2 separate regions of the Homo sapiens genome follow, and region 1 is linked to region 2. Evidence: promoter capture Hi-C in 16 types of primary human blood cells and fetal thymus (Javierre and others, 2016). All regions are on one chromosome and are shown on one strand. Each heading gives the region's core, a stretch centred on a gene start or on the middle of the fragment in contact. The rest is flanking DNA. Distances are from core to core; before and after follow the strand shown.

Evidence for each region. The method cuts DNA at HindIII sites, captures the fragments that hold promoters and counts their contacts. A CHiCAGO score of 5 or more calls a contact.
Region 1: a contact is called between a fragment that was not itself captured here and the fragment with the promoter of PPFIA4 in region 2, in 2 of 17 cell types (neutrophils and M0 macrophages). The highest score is 6.5, in neutrophils.

What each region holds. Positions count from the first base shown.
Region 1 is chr1:203,346,059-203,349,360 of GRCh38, reverse strand. FMOD (fibromodulin) reads left to right here. Exons shown (of 3, transcript NM_002023.5): 2 at 1,084-2,069. The coding sequence starts at 1,091. Among named protein-coding and RNA genes, the nearest start is that of FMOD, 3.4 kb to the left of the region's middle. RefSeq lists an enhancer at 2,824-3,302. The HindIII fragment of the contact is 6,064 bases long and covers 1-3,302 here.
Region 2 is chr1:203,025,237-203,028,579 of GRCh38, reverse strand. It overlaps PPFIA4 (PPFI scaffold protein A4), which reads right to left and starts at 2,089. Exons shown (of 30, transcript NM_001304331.2): 1 at 1,951-2,089. RefSeq lists an enhancer at 1,642-2,163 and a silencer at 1,990-2,299. The HindIII fragment of the contact is 10,467 bases long and covers 1-3,343 here.

The DNA of each region.
Region 1 (3,302 bases), core at 390-2,889, 320 kb before region 2:
CCTAGACACAGAGCCTGGTCATCTAGGTGTCATCGCTGGGAGCAGGTAGCTTGGGAAAGGAGAGGAGAATGTCAGGGTCCTACCTCAAGCTGCTTTCCCTTGAGCATACACAAGAGTTTCCAATCTCTAGCTATTCTTTTGGTGTCCCTCATTCATTTCTCTTGGCCCCACATGGCTCTTGCATGATGCCCATGGTGGAGCATGAGGAGTGCTAACACCTTACTAGGCACCATGGAAGAGAGAAGCAGATTAACTCAGACTTCACACACTGAGTACCTGCTTTAGAAGGCAAGTGCCACACCCAGTGCCAGGGTCCTCAGTCTGGAAAGGATTTGTAACTGCTGCATGAAGACCCTGTCCCAGCCAAGTTGCATGTGTAGCCACAAACTGCTAACCAGTGAGTTTCCTCACTCAGCAGACTGTTACAGATGATGGCACTTTGGAGGGCAACCTGAGCCTTGTGGTGGCTGCAGAGGGACCACACTCCTCCCCAAACACTCAAGACCAAAAACTCCCAGCCTGCCCAAGAGACCAAAAGATTTTCCAGATGTAGTTCAGCTCTTCCCCTTCGATGCGTCAAGCGGCTTCTGGAGGTCTCCCATCCTAGGGCTTTCTCCTTGGACTCTTAGAAAAATACTATTTCCCCGGAACATCCAAACTGGATTTGGGTTCAGATCTGAAGAGCATCCCACTACCATCCTTACCACCACACCACAAACACAGGGATTGCTGTGGGCTTTTCAGCTTTCCCACAGGACTTTCAGAGTGCTAGAGGCTCCTAAGAATCTGCCCCTCCAAAAAAAAAATGCAGCTGTTCCCATTCAAAGACATTCTGTCTGTGACTCTATGACCAGGGGAAAATGCACTTAGCTCACCCCAAATAGCCATGGTCCGGCTGGACCAAGTGCAGAACCAGACTGGGAGGAGGCACCGAAGAAATGAGAGCAAGGCTCCTGCTCTCAGATGTTTGACATGGAAGTCAGCTCTGCATAGCTCAAAGCCTAAGGCTTGCCTACTCTGCCTCACTGCCTCTGTGGAGTCTCACTCATGCTGGCTTGCTCTGTTCTCTCCCGCTTCTTGCAGAGACAAAATGCAGTGGACCTCCCTCCTGCTGCTGGCAGGGCTCTTCTCCCTCTCCCAGGCCCAGTATGAAGATGACCCTCATTGGTGGTTCCACTACCTCCGCAGCCAGCAGTCCACCTACTACGATCCCTATGACCCTTACCCGTATGAGACCTACGAGCCTTACCCCTATGGGGTGGATGAAGGGCCAGCCTACACCTACGGCTCTCCATCCCCTCCAGATCCCCGCGACTGCCCCCAGGAGTGCGACTGCCCACCCAACTTCCCCACGGCCATGTACTGTGACAATCGCAACCTCAAGTACCTGCCCTTCGTTCCCTCCCGCATGAAGTATGTGTACTTCCAGAACAACCAGATCACCTCCATCCAGGAAGGCGTCTTTGACAATGCCACAGGGCTGCTCTGGATTGCTCTCCACGGCAACCAGATCACCAGTGATAAGGTGGGCAGGAAGGTCTTCTCCAAGCTGAGGCACCTGGAGAGGCTGTACCTGGACCACAACAACCTGACCCGGATGCCCGGTCCCCTGCCTCGATCCCTGAGAGAGCTCCATCTCGACCACAACCAGATCTCACGGGTCCCCAACAATGCTCTGGAGGGGCTGGAGAACCTCACGGCCTTGTACCTCCAACACAATGAGATCCAGGAAGTGGGCAGTTCCATGAGGGGCCTCCGGTCACTGATCTTGCTGGACCTGAGTTATAACCACCTTCGGAAGGTGCCTGATGGGCTGCCCTCAGCTCTTGAGCAGCTGTACATGGAGCACAACAATGTCTACACCGTCCCCGATAGCTACTTCCGGGGGGCGCCCAAGCTGCTGTATGTGCGGCTGTCCCACAACAGTCTAACCAACAATGGCCTGGCCTCCAACACCTTCAATTCCAGCAGCCTCCTTGAGCTAGACCTCTCCTACAACCAGCTGCAGAAGATCCCCCCAGTCAACACCAACCTGGAGAACCTCTACCTCCAAGGCAATAGGATCAATGGTGAGACCTTGGCAAAGGGAGGCGGGGACTGGCTGTCTATTTCACTTGAAAGACACTATTCTGAGTGCTAGTGGCAAAACAAAAGAAATAGAAATAGGGGAACCAGACAGCACAAATGAAGCAACCTGACAACCAAGCCATACCCCTGTACAAAAGAGAATACACTTATACTAAATAGCAGTGCTAAGACAATTCAGTGGGGAGTGGGTTGGTACAGAAGAAGACTTTCCAGGAGAGGTAAGTTTCATTCCAGGTCTTGAGAGATAAGTGGGCATGGGTTGGGGGTATGCAGGATGGAGACATTCTGGGACAGAGGCTTGCCACAAAGGAGCCAGTCATTTTCACAGGTCACCTGTCGATGTAGGGGACAGCTGGGAAATGTCACGTGTCTGAGATGAAGGGGTCATGTGTCAGGGAGCAGTAAGAGATGAGTTCGGAGAAGTTTAGGAGGGAATACTTCAAAGGGAGGGAGATTTAAGTTTAGCTTCTAAAGTCTGTTTCAGGAGAATGGTGGGTTGAAGCCCTGCACTTACTCACTGTCCCAGAAGAGGATGAGCTCTCTTTTTCCACTTGAACTACTCTTGCGTCTACAGCCTGGTCTTGTGTTTTGGTGTTTATTCTCAGAGCTGAATGCGGCACTTGTTCTGGTCAGTTCTTCCTGGAGTACAAGGACCCCCTGGTGGCAGGGCAGATATCCTTCCTAGGGTAACATGAGCCTGACTACCACCAAGCCTAGGACACTGGGCTTCCTGTTTCATAAGCACTTCCTTGCAATGCCCAAAGGAAAAAAAAAAAGGCTGCCTCCCTGACTCTAAGAAATATTCATTTCAGATGGAATTATCTAGCTGATTTTCAGCTCCCTTTAGTCTTAGGATCTAGTATTCAGAACATGCTTACATTACCCCAGGGCTTCTGATGTCTTAATCCCAGCTGGAAGGTACTGAGCCAGCACTTGACCTCCCTTCCTGTCAGCAAAGTCCTCTTCCATCTGGAGAAGGGAGGACTCATTAACGACCACTGGCAAAGGGCTTTGAAGTGGAGCCTGCTGAGATAGAACCGCACCATCAAAGCGCTGAGAAGAACAGAGTCGTCACCCTCTCCCTCTCATTCCTTTCTCCCCTGTGCTCAGGGAACAGATCAGTCATTGAGCAAGATGTTAACAAGCTGGGCAGCCCTCTGAGTGAGAGAGGCACCAGCCCCAGAGGGCAATTTGGGAGTTGACAGTCGGGTGGG
Region 2 (3,343 bases), core at 840-3,339:
TAGGGCCTAAAGCCCAGGGAAGAATGTCCTTGGCATTCGAAGGCCTCGGCTAGCTGCCCATATCTTAAAACCCCCTTAACACCCAGCTCCCCAGCCCTGCTGAGCCTTCATCCCCACCTCATCACCACCACAGCCTGACTACTCATTCTCTTGCCTAGCTCTAGCTCTGCCATCCTCAGAGGCTCTGTGAGGACCTATAAGCCATCCCTGACAACTCTTTCCAACTCTAAGATTTCAGCAATCAACTCAGAGATGAGACCCAGGAGCCTGGCTGCCTGCCATGCCCTGCCCCTCCAGCCCTCCTTTACAGCCCAGCAGCCAGACCTCATGCACCACACGGTTCTGACATCACGACATGCTCAGCAGCACAAACCCCAACTCCACTGGATGCGAATTCCCTTCTACACCCTCCTCCCCCACACTATTCCATCTTCCAGAGATGGCGTCTCCCACTACACAGAGTGTCTAGGACATTCTTGGCCCCCAATAACCATTTTGTCATTCATTATCTCCTTACTTTGAGATACCGTTTACCCCACGAAGCCTCCTCAAGCCTCAGGACAAAATCTGAGAAAATAACCAAGGGAAATCATTCAAGCTGCCCTTTTGCTTAGGCAGCTTCCCTGGGACTACCTGGCCAGTTAATAGTGGTAGGGGGTGTGTAGGTTGGAGTCTAATTCAGACAGCTGTTTGAAAGCACGTGGACACAGTTCTTTCTTTTTCTAATCCAACAGCAATGTAACAGAATGGGGATGGGCGGTGAGAAGGGTGTTAACAGAATACCTGCTATGTGTGCCTCCTATGTGTACCTTTCAGCTACTCCGTGGCTGTAAATTGCCTTCAGAAGACCTAGCACCGAGCATAGTATCTGGCAGATAGTAGGTGTCCAACAAATGTTTGCTGGATGTTGAGCAAAGTACTAGGTACCAGATCCAAGAACTCTGGAAAGGACTATGGGAAATCCCTGAAACCTGGCTCCTGGAGGGGACCCTTAAGCTCACACCAGGAGGGGATCTCCCTGCGAAGCAGCGCCTCCTTAACCACTTGCTCTCCACACAGAACGGCCCCAACTCTCCTGCTCCTCTGATGGAAACTACCAGCACACCTCTCCTCAAAGGTGACATCAGCTCCTAGTGGCACCTTGTCCTGGATCCCTCCTCCTTCTCGAAGAAAACCACCTACACCATGTCTCCAAGTCCTCCAGCCCGACCTCTCTCTTCCCACCCACCATCAAAACCTCAAAATCTGCGCTGGAAAACATCCCTACTGCGTGGACGTAAGTCAGCGCCCCACTCCCACCCTCCCAGTTCAGGCATCTCTATTCCAGCCCTCTTTTCCTGTTGCGCCCACCCCTGTCCCCACCCCCACCAGGCCTCGGGTTGGCCGCTCCTTCCACCCCACCGCCCTGGCACTGCGGAGATGGGGGCATCTCTGGCACAGACTGAGGCTGGCAGTTCGAGGAATGGAGAGCTAGCGACAGGAACAGGGGTGCTATGAGCAACTCGGGAAAGATTAAGACCCCCGCGAAGAGCGAAGACCTCAGCCCATCAGAATCGCGTCCCCAAAGGAGTGGGGTTGGCCCCGGAGCCGAGAGGCGCTTTTTCTGACTCTCCTGGAGGGGAAATGGGGGCGCAGTCTGCTCCGTTCCCACCGGGAGACTCGCCAACTCGGCCCCCTCCCCTGAAGCCGATGGAGCAGAGGGCGCACTCCACGCCCTCCCCGCAGATCAGGCATCGCCCCTATCCTCACCCCCAAGGGCACAGGGCACCGCAAAGGAGGGCGAGGGGCGGCAGGGTAAGCAGTACCGACGCCTGCCGGAGGTAGCACATACGGAGTCAAAAAGGGCTGTTTCCCGAGGTGCGATAGACGAGACCCCTCCCCAAACTGTCGAGGGGAGCTGGAGATGGGGAAAAGACGCATCCTACCCCAGTCCAGGCTCTGGGCGCTCACCTGCCTGCAAATGCCGAAGGCCAGGCGGCTAGGCTCGGAAGCAGCAGGGAGCCGCCCCCGACCCGTGCAGCCCGACACGTCCTAGAGCCGAGCCGGCGCCGAGGTAGCTGCAGCCTCCGCCGCCCAAGCGCGCGGCCGCGGGGCCCCGCCCCCTTCCTCCGCGGACAACCCCCCCCGGCTCCGCCCCCTAGGCGGGGCTGGGCTGCCGCGACCGAGGCCACGCCTCCCGCCCCCAAGCGCCTCGGGTCCGGGCACGTGACGAGAGCGCCGCTTTGAGGCCGCGCGCCATCTTGGTTCAGCCTAGGAGGTGGCGAAGTGCCAGAGTTTTATTCCGCAGAAGGGTCTCAGGGCCCAGGAGTGCTGCCCACATTCTGCCCCTCCCTCTGAACTCGCCCTTGTTCCTAGTCTAACAGCCCGTTCCCTAAATTGGCCTTAGTCTCGGCCTTGTAATTGTCAAGTTTGTCACCTTTCACGCTTGCTCTCCTGCCCGTTCCTTGCTTTTCCTTTGATCGCACCCATTTTTTAAGTGGGGAAACTTGATATCCGGATACTACATCTGTAGTATGCTCTTCAGTGAATTGTGTCGCTTGCCTTCAGGCACCTGGCTGTTCTAACACTGTTACTACAAAATGAAGGGTTTGTCTATTACATATACATAGTATGAAAACAAGTCTCAAATGCCAAAATTCCTGACTGACAAATTTTAGCTAAGCCTCTCCATTTTCCTGAATTGCTCCCTTACCCTGCCCCCTGTGGCTATTAATGCATCTTTTCCATCTGCTTTGTGAAGTTTCATCACAGTGCCTACTCAATCCTTTACCAATACCCAGTAAGCACCACTAAAAGTGTGAACAATTTTTATATACATGCAATGTGTTCATGTGTGTGTATTTATAGATATATACACAGCATGTTCTATATCAGCAGCAAATGCTATAGTTGAGATCAGTGACACATACAACCTTCTCTCATTTATCTTCCACCCAATATATTCACCATTTGGCATAATTTCCTTGCGTCTCTTTGAAGACAGGGAAATCTTGAGTAATTCTGATCTGAGGGGTGGGTAAGTGAAGCTAAATCTGTGACCCTTGAACAACAGGGCCTTCAACTGCACAGGGCCAGTTGCATGCAGATTTTCTTCCTTCCCCGCCACCCCTGAGACAGCAAGACTACCCCTCCTCTTCTTACTCGTCAGCCTGCTCAACATGATGACCCACTTAATGAACAGTAAATGTATTTTCTCTTCTTTGATTTTCTTAATAACATTTTCTTTTCTCGAGCTTATTATAATAAGGTATATACTACATATACAAAATGCACATTAATCAACTGTTTATGTTATCAATAAGGCTTCCAGTCAACAGTAGGCTATTAAGTTTTCGGGCAGTCA